2 separate regions of the Homo sapiens genome follow, and region 2 is linked to region 1. The links are contacts of gene promoters, found by promoter capture Hi-C in blood cells and fetal thymus (Javierre and others, 2016). All regions are on one chromosome and are shown on one strand. The core of a region is centred on a gene start or on the middle of the fragment in contact, and the rest is flanking DNA. Distances in the headings are between cores, read along the strand shown.

The links. The method cuts DNA at HindIII sites, captures the fragments that hold promoters and counts their contacts. A CHiCAGO score of 5 or more calls a contact.
Region 2: a fragment that was not itself captured here is called in contact with the fragment with the promoter of SLC43A3 in region 1 in 3 of 17 cell types (activated CD4 T cells, total CD8 T cells and naive CD8 T cells); the score reaches 7.4 in activated CD4 T cells.

What each region holds. Positions count from the first base shown.
Region 1 is chr11:57,425,819-57,432,412 of GRCh38, forward strand. It overlaps SLC43A3 (solute carrier family 43 member 3), which reads right to left and starts at 1,303. Exons shown (of 14, transcript NM_199329.3): 1 at 1,244-1,303; 2 at 770-834; 3 at 171-534. The coding sequence starts at 354. RefSeq lists enhancers at 1-27, 1-919, 28-820 and a silencer at 1,063-1,422. The HindIII fragment of the contact is 9,438 bases long and covers 1-4,434 here.
Region 2 is chr11:58,527,338-58,534,023 of GRCh38, forward strand. It overlaps LPXN (leupaxin), which reads right to left. Exons shown (of 9, transcript NM_004811.3): 8 at 706-854; 9 at 1-386. The coding sequence ends at 117. Among named protein-coding and RNA genes, the nearest start is that of OR5B21, 23 kb to the left of the region's middle. The HindIII fragment of the contact is 4,221 bases long and covers 1-3,502 here.

The sequences.
Region 1 (6,594 bases), core at 53-2,552:
GGAGCTGGTGCCTCCCTCCCAGGCACTTCCCAGATCAAGTGGGGTGAGAGCTGCTGACCCTTCCTCTCATCATAGAAAGAGGGGTGGGCAGGGGGCAGAGTCCTTCCTGCTCCTTGCCACCACGTGGGAGCCAGACTTAACTTCCTTAGAAAAGTCATCCCTGCCCTTACCAGCCTGCCCTGTGGCATTGCCAATCGGCCCAGCATCTGGTCCACACAGATCCTTAAAGTAATCTTCATTCTTGAAGACAAACACTAGTGAAGGCCAGCCAAAGAGGACGCCAGCAAAGCCCAGGCATTCCAGCAGCCCAGTCAGCAGTGTGGCCACGTGCAGGGGCAGGCCCTGGCCCGCCATGAGCAGAAGTGGAGTGGATCTTCAAATCCCACTTTGTCCTCCTGGACGGATCACAGGCGCCGTAAGCCTGGCGTTTGAGCACTTGGAAAATTCCTCTGGCAAGCCAAGCCCTTCCTTTCCCGTAGCTCTCTGGTTGTTTCAGGCCTGGGCAAAAACCATCAGCGGGTGATTCTCTGGATCCTGTAGAATAAAGATAGAGGCTGCTGGAAGAGGAGGCCTGCGGGAAAGGGAAAGGTAGACTAGAGTTATTTGTGAGGTGCATTAAGAGGCAGGATGATCATGGCCGCTGGCAGCAAATGTGGGGAATAAATACTCCAATACATCATCTTAGGCACTGCATTTGAGTAACCACGTGGCAAGTAGAGAGGCAGGTCTTGATGGCCACCTGGAGTCACAGGTGAGATAAACGACTTACCCAATAGCTCCCCGGGAGCAGGTGGAGAAGCGGAGCTCCTGCGCTCGAATTCTGAATACCGTCCCCTAAAATAATGACAGCAACTCAACCAGGTGCAGAGGCAGGGAGATTTCATACAGAAGACACAAACTCCCGCTGCCAAGTTGGTGTTATCTTCAGTTTACTGACAATGAAACAAAAGCTCCCATGGATTTCAGGAACTTGCCCAAGGTCACAGGGCTAGTTTAGTCACGACGCAGGCCATTCTACTGCCAGAAATACCCCCAACTCCCATGACCCTCGCCTAGGACTCGCAAACCTGGTCCCCGCCGCCCTTCCTCGCATCAACTTCTACCAGGAAAGCCTCCGGGGGCCGCTCCCCGCCAGCCTCCGCACCCCGCTCCAGCCTGCGGCCTGCCCTCCCCGCAGAGGAGCCCGAGGGGCCAGGCCGCGCTCGGCGCCCCATGGCGCCCGAAAGGGGACCCTTCGCCCTACCCGCCTGCTCCGCGCCGGGGCTCTCCGCGCCCTTTCCGCACGGGCCAGGTTCGCATTCGCGCCTCTCGCAGCCCCTCCCAGTCCCCTGCTCGCCTCCGCCCCCTCCTGCCCGCCCGGAAGGGGCTGGGGCAGACCTCCCACTCTCCATCACTTCCTTCTTCTTTTCCCTTGCTCACAGCCTCCCGCGCCCTTTTTACCTCTCCCTCTTGAAACTTCTCCCTCTAGAACCCCCTAGAACCCCAGCGGTGTCTTTCCCTCCCTCCTCGCTGCCTTTCAGCCTCCCAGCCCCCTTGCCTCTGCCTCCCCTAACCAAGTTAGTTGAATGCTGTTACTCGCTCAGGCCCACCTAGGGAAAATGTCACACCCAGCACCCAGAGGACACACAGACAGCACATGAGGGCATAGGGACACACACACTCTATTTGTGCATTTTGCCTTGACCGCTGGGTTGGCAGGGAACATATTTTTCCTATTTGCTCACCAGCTTAACCGTCTCTCCCAGTTTCACACTCCCAGAGCTGCCAAAAAAATCCCAACCACAGAATCAGGAAGCCAAGAACCAGGACTGAGGGCTTTTCAGAAACCATCCCCTGGAGGACTGCCCCATATTTTCACTCCCAAAAACCCCTTAGATGACTCCCTGCCTCACCCCCGCCCCCCAGGTTCTGAAAGAGCCTTCCCGCCAGACTGCATTGATTAACCATTCATTGCCCCATTTTTTATTAATCAAAGACATATATAATTGCTCATCGGAGCTTGTGATCAGCGTGAGGCCTTACTAAGCAGCTGCCTTACTATCCTTCCAGCCCAGAGCACGTGAGCTGACGTCTTCTTTGGCCTGTGTGGCCGTTTCCTTGCCAAAAGCTCAGTTTGGGGAGAGCTTCTTGCGTATTAGATGCAGTCTGCAGACTCCCAACCCCAGCTACCTGGATCCCCTGAGGGCCCAGGAACTCCAGCTATTCCAAGCCCACTCCTCTTTTTTTTAAGAGGAAGAAATAGAGGTTACGATAGGGGACAGCCAGAACTGAGGATTTTCCAGCTCACCACCAAAGCACAAAAGATAAAAGTCTGCAACCACCCTAGTGACTTGACTGAATGGAGGAAGGGTGGCTGGGGTCCTGTACCCCAAGCTACTCACTAGTTATACAACCTGAGGCAAGCTCTTTGGCTGCCCCACCTGTAAGACGAGGACAATAGTACCTTAATTATAGGAATTGTCATAAAAGAAGTATAAGATGGGTGTATGAGGTCCCTGCATGGCGCAGGTGCTATAGGCAGATTGTAGGGTAGTAGATTTTCTAGTCTGCAGTTATGTAGACAGAGCCAGAGAAGCAGCTCTGGGGAGGAATTTCAAAGGAACTTGCCCACGGTCATTCTACAAAGCTGCAGTACCTTCCCAACTCTGAAACGTATGCTCTCATCACCCCGTCTTAACAAACATTTGGACATTAGAGAAAACAAGTCTTTTCTTAAAATAACATTATTTATGGGAGAAAATCCACAAAAATATAGCATCCCAGGACAAACAGGGCTTAAGATGCAAGATTTTCTATTTTACTGCAAGACACAAAGACTCTGAAATTAATGCATGCCCTATCTTCTGCTCTGGCATACATTTTAGTCTCCTGGGGGGATCAGTAAGTGTGGAAGTAGCAAGGGAGAAACAGAAAAAAGTCAAAGTAAAGAGACAGATTTTAGAATGTTAATCTGCAGGAGCCTGCCAGAAAGATCTAGCTCATGGGCTATCTGTACATCCAGGACTGAAGCACGGGACACGGGGCAGGTCGTCCAGGGTTCTGTCCACCTTATCTTGTTACCTCTCTTGACTCTTAGAGCCTCCACTCCACATCTCCCATCAATGTCTGCAGAAGACGTGGCCTCCACTAACACAAGTCTTACTGAACTGATGGGACAGGAAATTAGAATATCCTCTGAACCATTCCCATGTTCTTTGGTTCGAATTCCAGCAGCTAGAAAAGGCAGATGCTATTCTGATCACTCTCCTGCGTGGCTCCAATGAGGATTAATGAGTAACATCAGAGAGAGAAGTGATTATAATAAGGTCTGACGGTGCACCCGATGTCTTCATCCTTTTCTCTTCGCCTCCTTCCTCATCATCTCACACCTTTTTTTTTTTAATTGACTGATTGGTTCAACAAATACATGTGGTACCTCAGGCTCTGTGCCAAGTGCCGGGATTCGTAGAGAAGAGATTCAGTGCCTGCTCTCAAGGGGCTCATTCTCTTGTGGGAGAGACAGACAAAGAAACCCAAGATTTCTGGAGTGTGGGAATGGTCTTCCAGGCAGATGCTAGCACAGCACATTGAAAGGCACGGAACCTCAACAAAACAATAACATTTAGGAACCAGCTAGAGCACAGGGTGGTGAAGAAAGTGGAAAGATTTGAGGCCAGCGTCGCCATCTAAGTGAGGGCATTAAGAATTCAGCCCACATCAATCAATCATGTCCTATTGATTTCACCCCTTAATATCTCTCCTATCTATCCGTGGCCACTGCTCTATGCAGACACTCATCATCTCTCACAGAGGCATCATCTGCTTCCAAGCCATCGCCATTCTCCTGCAAGAGTTTATTTCCATGGTTCCCACTGGATGGCTTCACTTAACTGCTCAAAACCCTTCTGAGGTCCAGTCAACTGGCTGGTAAGGACCAGTCCAGGGTCTGGGGATGCCAGCCATGAGACATTGCTTTGAGGGGAAGAGGGAGCATAGAACTGGATCTCCTGCATCCTACTGCCCAAGTACCAATGCTGGAGGTGGTTTTCCTTCCCATCATCAGCAAGTCTGGATATCCAGGATCCACCCTATGGATGTTTTTATGGACAGAGTGGGAAGATGGATATGTTTAGGTTAGGGAAAGAGGGTTTGCCAAAGAGGGCAGTATAAGTGAGCTGCACTCCATCATTCCCCTGGCACAAACAATGGCTAGTATCCTCTAGTCCTCAAGAGCACCACCTTCCAATGCAGTCCCTGCCTGTCCACAGACCTCTCTCCTCAAACTTCCTCTGAACAACCTCAGCGAGGGCAATTGCCACTCTCTGGGCAGAGTCCAGATATTCTCTCCTACCCTCTGACATCACTTTCTAAATTTGTATATGTAGATAAACTCTGAGCCATTCACATAAAGGGCTTTGATTTCGGATACGCCAAACACATAAACAAACAAACATAAGCTTTCCTTTCACAATGGGCTCATGTAAATTAAAATGTTTGGTTTTCCACCTACGGTCTTGAAAGGGGTTTCTACAGCCTGTTTTGGAAGTCAGAAAGCAAAAGGTAAATGCAAACATCATTTCACCTGCAGAGAAAATTCTAATCCTCTTGAGGCAGTGCCAAAAATAATACAAGCACACTGCTATCGAGCCAATTACTGGTATCTCTGAGCTTCCGTCTCCTCATCTATAAAATTGGAATCGAGCTGTATGGATTAAAGATAATGTATGAAAACTGCCCAATTAGTACACTATTAATAAATAGCAGCTACTGTTGTTAACAAATATTATTGACTTACTGGAAAACAAAGAGGAAATAAAGTCACATTTAGGGAGAATTTCAAAGTGTTCCTAACCTAAAAAAGAAATAAATTAGGGGGAAAACCACTAAGTAATGGGTGAGCTCAGTTTACCTTGCTTAAGAAGTCCCACCCTAGAGAACTGATCTCTAGATGACACCCAAATGCACTCAGTACAACCCCCCAAGACTGTCTGGGCTTAAGGCAGGGGCTTGGATTGTCCTGTAAGCTGTGGGAAGTCTGTTCATGAGCCACAGTAGACAGGAAGGGGATGGAGTCTTAGAGCTGGCTCTTCAGGGTATCTCCTAGTGTGTTCAAAGCAGTTCTCAGGAGGGTGGGGAACTACTACATAGCCAAGTAAATATGAGGCCTCCTTGCTCTGGGGAGACCTTTCTCTTTAACAGAGGTGAATCTGAAAGGATACCCAAAGAGGCACTGGAGGGTGGGGGCCACTCTGGCCCCTCAGAGCAGCCAGCTCAGCTTCAGTGGATGCTAGAGGCAGCAGAGGATCAGCCTGGATCAGCCTCCCTTTCACCATGCAGAAAACAGAGCTCCCCCACCAGACCAGATACTGGAAGCACTGGGCCAGGCCTAAGAGAAAGCAGAGCCCCAAGCCCCACCACACCAGGGCTTATGAGGCTACTGCTACCCACCCTCCCAAGCCCCAGCTCCACTTCTATGTTCATCAAGCAACTGTTTACTGGTAACTGCACTTCCCGATAGACTTTGCTAGAAAGGAATGCCTCAGTGCACTGACAATATCTAAACCTGCAACTCTAAGGACTAGGCTGGGGAACACTGTGTCAACATGGAGGCACGTCCTACCCCTGAGAAGAAAAATAAGGAATATCAATAATACCTGCTGGGCACTGAGCACTGACTATGTATCTGATTCGAAGCGCTTTTTGCTTAATCTGTCACTGAATCTCACGATAGGTGTTGTTATTAGCATCTATTATCTGGGCCAACTGAGGCCTAGAGGGACGAAGCAACTCCCCCAACATCACCAGGTAGCAGTGTCAGGACTGGGATAGAAACCTGATGCTCTGACTGAAACTAATGCTTTTTTTTTTTTTTTTTTTTTTTTTTTTGAGACAGCATCTCACTCTGTCACCAAGGCTGGAGTGAAATGGTGTGATCTCAGTTCACTGCAGCCTCCACTTCCCAGGTTCAAGTGATTCTCCTGCCTCAGCCTCCCGAGTAGCTGGGATTACAGGCGTGCACCACCATGCCCAGCTAATTTTTTTGCATTTTTTGTAGAGATGGGGTTTCGCCATGTTGGCCAGACTGGTCTCAAACTCCTGGGCTCAAGTGTTCTGCCTGCCTTGGCCCCACAAAGTGCTAGGATTACAGGCGTGAGCCACCATGCCCAGCCAGCTGATGCTCTTAATCTGTGCCCTACCCAGCCTTCCTGGGAGGCTTCCCAAGAGCTACACAGAGCATGAGTTCTGGAATCGGGTTGATGGGGGTACCAGTTATTACTAATAGGAATGAAGATGGGTAATTCTTTCAGACAGCACCCTTGATTAAAACAAGAGAGTAGTGCTGCCTCTCTGTGATTCTGTGTCTCCCTGCCCTGCTCACACAGACACCACACCCACCCACACGCATGATCATGAAAAGAGGAAATGGATCCAGGAGAAGGAGACGACTCCTGAGTGAAAACAACGGGGTTTTTCACATTGAGAGCTTTGCCCAACACCCCAAAGATGAAAAGAGCAGGAAACTGCTGGGGCCGATTGAACACTGGACTTTTGTTGTGGAAAAAGGCAAAGGGAAGCCGGAAGAGACTGGAACAGTTTCCATGGTGCTGGAGGATG
Region 2 (6,686 bases), core at 142-2,641, 1.1 Mb after region 1:
TTCCTTTTTCTATAAGACTATTAAGCAGAAGGTCAGTAACAGAAAATTTACCCTTTCCTCTCCTCTCTTGGTTTAAATTTTATAAGGAATCTGAAGAGGCTATGGATCAGTTGGCATTACAGTGGGAAGAGCTTATTGAAGCAAGGTTGACAATAGGTCTTGTCATTCTGCTCCCTGAAAATGCCCTTCGACAACTGTGTCAGGCAGAAAGCACACACAAAGTGCTCAGGATGGAACTTGTACCCCATGGCACTGATACAACGGCCAGTGATGGGCTGCCCACACCCATGGCAGAGCGTTCCCCGGCGGTGATGGTAATGGAGCTCACAGAATGGACGTCCATCCAGTTCAAAGAAGGAGCCAGTAGAAAAACTGGTGAAGCAGTCCTGGGGTAGAGAGAAGAGAGAGAAAAAGAATGCAAATGTCAAGAGGTAAAATGTCAGCAAAGTAAAATTTTCAGCCTTGAAATTCCTGACAGTTACCTGCCAGCTACAGGAATTTCCCTCAGGTTCTTGACAAATGGAGACTAGATTTCCCGCTTGCAAAACAGACAAGCAAATGGATCTGTATCTCGTTTCTCCTTTAGGATGCGCACATCCATTCCTCATTCAGGACTGTGAACCCTTTCACTAACTGCAGCTCTTCCTCTCAGAGAGGAGAACCCTTGACTTTCCCTAAGTCCGAAAGAAAAGTGATTATACAGACCCCACAAACAAAGCACTCTGGGTGCCAGACAGTGTCCATGGCTGAAAGGTAGTTTTCCAACACTGGGCGATTGCAGCCACCACACTTGGGTGAGAACATGGCTAAGAAATCCTTTCGGCAATATGGCTTCTTGTCCTTCTCATGAAAGCCTGGAGAGATAAAATCAGGAATTCACTGTTGCAGGTTGAGCCCTGAAAGCTACACTGGAGACTGAGAGGAGGCCCTTTCAATCTCAGTGTCCTCATATTCAAAATAGGATGATTACTGTTACCTAATTCAAAGGGTAGTTGTAAGAAATAAATGAGATAATGCAGAGGAAGTGTTTTGGCATTGTGTCTGGTTCATAGTAAACATTTAATAAGTGTTAGGGGCTATTGCTCCTCAGTGCCTTTGTACTAAGTATTCCCTTGGCTTGGATAGTTCTGTCCCAGAGCCTGATATAGTTGTCCTCTTCATGTGATGCAAGAATCACTCAAATATCATCTTATCAGAGAGGCATCTCTTCAGTCCCTCCTTGTCACATCATCTTCTTTCACCGTCTTTATGGCATTTACCTTTATTTAAAATCATCTTTGTGGGCTGTCTCCCCTTACAGGAACATTAGCTCTGAGAGAAACTAGATATTGTTGATCTTGTCACCATTATATCTCTAATATCTAAAACAGCATCTGGGAAGAAAAAAAGCATCTGATATTTTAAAATAAAATACTACTAAATAATAATTTCCAGATGGATGCAAGATCTAAACACAATGACTCATACCATATATTTGAATTAAAAATAGATGTATTCCTCCTTTTTTTATTTTTTGTGTGGGTATATTATTTTTATTGTTTACCAGCAGTGTATGAAAATCCCAATTATTCCTCAGTCTTTACATCACTTGATATATCCATATATTTCCTTTTTAATCAATCAAATGGATGTTATCTATCTATACAATGTTATCTCATGGTAGTTTTGATTTGTATTTCCCGAAAGGCTAATGATACTTAGGGTTTTTTTAATGTGTGCATTTGCATTTCATATCTTGTCATTAATGATGTATTCCTCTTTAATCTGGAAACAGAAAAACTGTCATAAATAAAGCCCAAATTCCAAAAGCAAGTTAAATATTAATAAATTTAGCTACATAAAAATATATCTGAATGACTTACACATGTCAAAAAATCACCATAAACAAAGACAAATAACAATCTGAAGAAAATATTTGCTAATTATATTCCACTCCTGAGTATATGTATGGTTTCAACTATTGTTGTACATAATTAAAAAGTGAAAAAATTGGCCGGGCACGGTGGCTTGCACCTGTAATCCCAGCACTTTGGGAGGCCGAGGCGGGTGGATCACGAGGTCAGGAGATCGAGACCATCCTGGCTAACACGGTGAAACCCCGTCTCTACTAAAAATACAAAAAATTAGCCAGGTGTGGTGGCGAGCGCCTGTAGTCCCAGCTACTTGGGAGGCTGAGGCAGGAGAATGGCGTAAACCCGGGAGGCAGAGCTTGCAGTGAGCCGAGATCGCACCACTGCACTCCAGCCTGGGAGATAGTGAGACTCTGTCTCAAAAAAAAAAAAAAAAAGTAAAAAAATTAAAATGGAAAAACATGAATCCCTAAAAAATTGAATCAAATTGAAGAAAATTAACTGTATATCAAACTGATGACATGAGCAATAAAATAAATAATTTGGAGATTGCTGGCAGGATGACCGAATAGGAACAGCTCAGGTCTGCAGCTTCCAGTGAGATCGATGCAGAAGGCAGGTGATTTCTGCATTTCCAACTGAGGTAACCGGTTCATCTCATTGAGACTGATCGGACAGTGGGTGCAGCCCATTGAGGGCAAGCCGAAAAAGGGTGGGGTGTTGCCTCACCCAGAAAGCACAAGGGGTCAGGGAACTCCCTCTCCTAACAAAGAGAAGCCATTAGAAACTGTGCCGTGAGGAACAGTGCACTCCGGCCCAGATACTGTGCTTTTCCCATAGTCTTCACAAACCGCAGACCTGGAGATTCCCTCTTGTGCCTACGCCACCAGGGCCCTGGGTTTCAAGCACAAAACTGGGCGGCTGTATGGGCAAACACTGAGCTAGCTTTAGAAGTTTTTTTGTTTTTTGTTTTTCATAACCTAGATGCACCTGGAATGCCAGCGAGACAGAACTGTTCACTCCCCTGGAAAGGGGGCTTAAGCCAGGGAGCCAAGTGGCCTGGCTCGGTAGGTCCCACCCCCATGGAGCCCAGCAAGCTAAGATCCACTGGCTTGAAATTCTTACTGCCAGCACAGCAGTCTGAGCTCGACCTGGGATACTAGAATTTGGTGGAGGGAGAAGCATCCACCATTGCTGAGGCTTGAGCAGGTGGTTTTACCTTCACAGTGTAAACAAAGCCACTCAGAAGATCAAACTGGGTGGAGCCAACCGCAGCTCAGCAAGGCTGCTGTGGCTAGACTGCCTCTCTAGATTCCTCTTTTCTGGGCAGGCCATCTCTGAAAAGAAAAAGGCAGCAGCTCCAGTCAGGGGCTTATAGATAAAACCCCCATCTCCCTGGGACAGAGCACCCAGGGGAAGGGGTGGCTGTGGGCACAGCTTCAGTAGACTTAAACATCCCTGCCTGACAGCTCTGAAGAGAGCAGTGGATCTCCCAGCACAGGGTTCGAGCTCTGCTAAGGGTCAGACTGCCTCCTTGAGTGGGTCTGTGGCCCCCGTGTCTCCTGATTGGGAGACACCTCCCAATAGGGGCTAACTGACACCTCATACAGGAGAGCTCTGGCTGGCATCTGGTGGGTGCCCTGCTGGGATGAAGCTTCCAAAGGAAGGAACAGGCAGCAATCTTTGCTGTTCTGCAGCCTCTGCTGCTAATACCCAGGCAAACAGGGTCTGGAGTCGACCTCCAGCAAACTCCCGTGGACTTGTAGCAGAGGAGCCTGACTGTTAGAAGGAAAACTAACAAACAGAAAGGAATAGCATCAACATCAACAGAAAGGACATCCACTCAGACACTCCATCTGAAGGTCACCAACTTCAAAGACCAAACGTAGAAACACTCAAGAAGATGGGGAGAAACCAATGCAAAAAGGGTGAAAATCCCAAAAACCAGAATGCCTCTTCTCCAAAGGATCACAACTCCTCAACACCAAGGGAACAAAACTGGATGAAGAATGAGTCTGACGAACTGATAGAAGTAGGCTTCAGAAGGTGGGTAATAACAAACTCCTCCGAGCTTTATAAAGGAGCATGTTCTAACCCAATGCAAGGAAGCTAAGAACCTTGAAAACAGGTTAGACAAATTGCTAACTAGAATAACCAGTTTAGAGAAGAACATACATGACCTGATGGAGCTGAAAAATATAGCACAAGAACTTTGTGAAGCATACACAAGTATCAATAGCTGAATTGATCAAGCAGAAGAAAGGATATAAGAGATTGAAGGTCAACTTAATGAAATAAAGCAAGAGGACAAGATTAGAGAAAAAAGAATGAAAAGGAATGAATAAAGCCTCCAAGAAATATGGGACTATGTGAAAAAAACAAATCTACGTTTGACTGGTGTACCTGAAAGTTATGGGGAGAATGGAACCAAGCTGAAAAACACTCTTCAGGATATTATCCAGGAGAACTTCCTCAACCTAGCAAGACAGGCCAACATTCAAATTCAGGAAATACAGAGAACACCACAAAGATACTCCTCAAGAAGAGCAACCCCAAGACACATAATCATCAGATTCACCAAGGTTGAAATTGAGGTGACAATGTGCTTGCAACCCTTGCTCGCTCTTGGCACGTCCTTGGCCTCGGCATCCACTCTGGCCACGCTTGAGGAGCCCTTCAGCCTGCCGCTGCACTGTGGGAGCCCCACTCTGGGCTGGCTGAGGCTGGAGCCAGCTCCCTCTGCCTGCGGGGAGGTGTGGACGGAGAGGCACGGGCAGGAACTGGGGCTGCATGCGGTGCTCGTGGGCCAGCACGAGTTTCGGGTAGCACGGGATCAGCAGGCCCCGCACTCAGAGTGGCCGGCCAGCACCGCCAGCCCCAGGCAGTGAGAGGATTAGCAACTGAGACAGCAGCTGCGGAGGGTGCACTGGGTCCCCTAGCACTGCTGGCCCACCTGTGTCATGCTCGAATTCTTGCCAGGCCTCAGCTGCCTCCCTGTGGCGCAGGGCTTGGGATCTGCAGCCCGCCATGCCCGAGACCCCCACAGTGGGCTCCCATGCAGCCCAAGCCTCCCCGACAGGTGCTGCCCCCTGCTCCGAGGCGCCCAGTCCCATCGACCGCCCAAGGGCTGAGGAGTGTGGGCGCACGGCACGAGACTGGAGGGCAGCTCCGCCCGCAGCCCTGGCATGGGATCCACTAGGCGAAGCCAGCTGGGCTCCTGAGTCAGGTGGGGACTTGGATAACTTTTATGTCTAGCTAGAGGATTGTAAATGCACCAATCAGCACTCTGTGTCTGGCTCAGGGATTGTAAATGCACCCATCAGCACTCTGTGTCTAGCTAAAGGTTTGTAAATGCACCAATCAGTGCTCTGTGTCTAGCTAATCTAGTGGGGACTTGGAGAACTTTTGTGTCTAGCTAGAGGATTGTAAATGCACCAATCAGCACTCTGTGTCTAGCTCAGGGATTGTAAATGCACCAGTCAGCACCCTGTCAAGACAGACCAAACAGCTCTCTGTAAAATGGACCAATCAGCTCTCTGTAAAATGCACCAATTAGCAAGATGTGGGTGGGGCCAGATAAGGGAATAAAAGCAGGCTGCCCGAGCCAGCAGTGGCAACCCACTTGGGTCCCCTTCCACACTGTAGAAGTTTTGTTCTTTCACTCTTTGCAATAAATCTTGCTGCTGCTCACTCTTTGGGTCCGCACTGCCTTTATGAGCTGTAACACTCACCGCGAAGGTCTGCAGCTTCACTCCTGAGGCCAGCGAGACCACGAATCCACCAGGAGGAATGAACAACTCCAGATGGGAGGAATGAGCAACTCCAGACGCACCGCCTTAAGAGCTGTAACACTCACCGTGAAGGTCTGCAGCTTCACTCCTGAAGCCAGCGAAACCACAAACCCATCAGAAAGAAGAAACTCCGAACATGTCTGAACATCAGAAGGAACAAACTCCGGACACACCATCTTTAAGAACTGTAACACTCACCGCAAGGGTCCGCGGCTTCATTCTTGAAGTCAGTGAGACCAAGAACCCACCAATTTCGGACACAAAATGAAGGAAAAAATGTTAAGTGCAGCCAAAGAGAAAGGTTGGGTAACCCACAAAGGGAAGCCCATCAGACTAACAGCGGATCTCTTGGCAGAAACTGTACAAGCCAGAAGAGAGTGGGGGCCAATATTCAACATTCTTAAAAGCATTTTCAACCCAGAATTTCATATCCAGCCAAACTAAGCTTCGTAAACAAAAGAGAAATAAAATTATTTACAGACAAGCAAATGCTGAGAGACTTTACTACCACCAGGCCTGCCTTACAAGAGCTCCTGAAGGAAGCACTAAACACAGAAAGGAATAACTGGTACCAGTCACTGCAAAAACATACCAAATTGTAAAGACCATAGATGCTATGAAGAAACTGTTCATAACAGTTCTTCAAAATAACCAGCTAGCATCATAATTACCAGATCAAATTCACACATAACAAGATTAACCTTAAATGTAAATGGACTAAATGTCCCAATTAAGACACACAGACTGGCAAATTGGATAAAGAGGCAAGACTCATTGGTGTGCTGTATTCAGGAGACCCATCTCACATGCAAAGACACACATAGGCTCAAAATAAAGGGATGAAGGAATATTTACCAAGTAAACGGAAAGAAAAAAAAAAGCAGGGGTTGCAATTCTAGTCTCTGATAAAAAAGACTTTAAACCAACAAAGATCAAAAGAGACAAAGATGGGCATTACATAATGGTAAAGGGATTAATGCAACAGGAAGAACTAACTATCCTAATTATATATGCACCCAATACAGGAGCACCCAGATTCATAAAG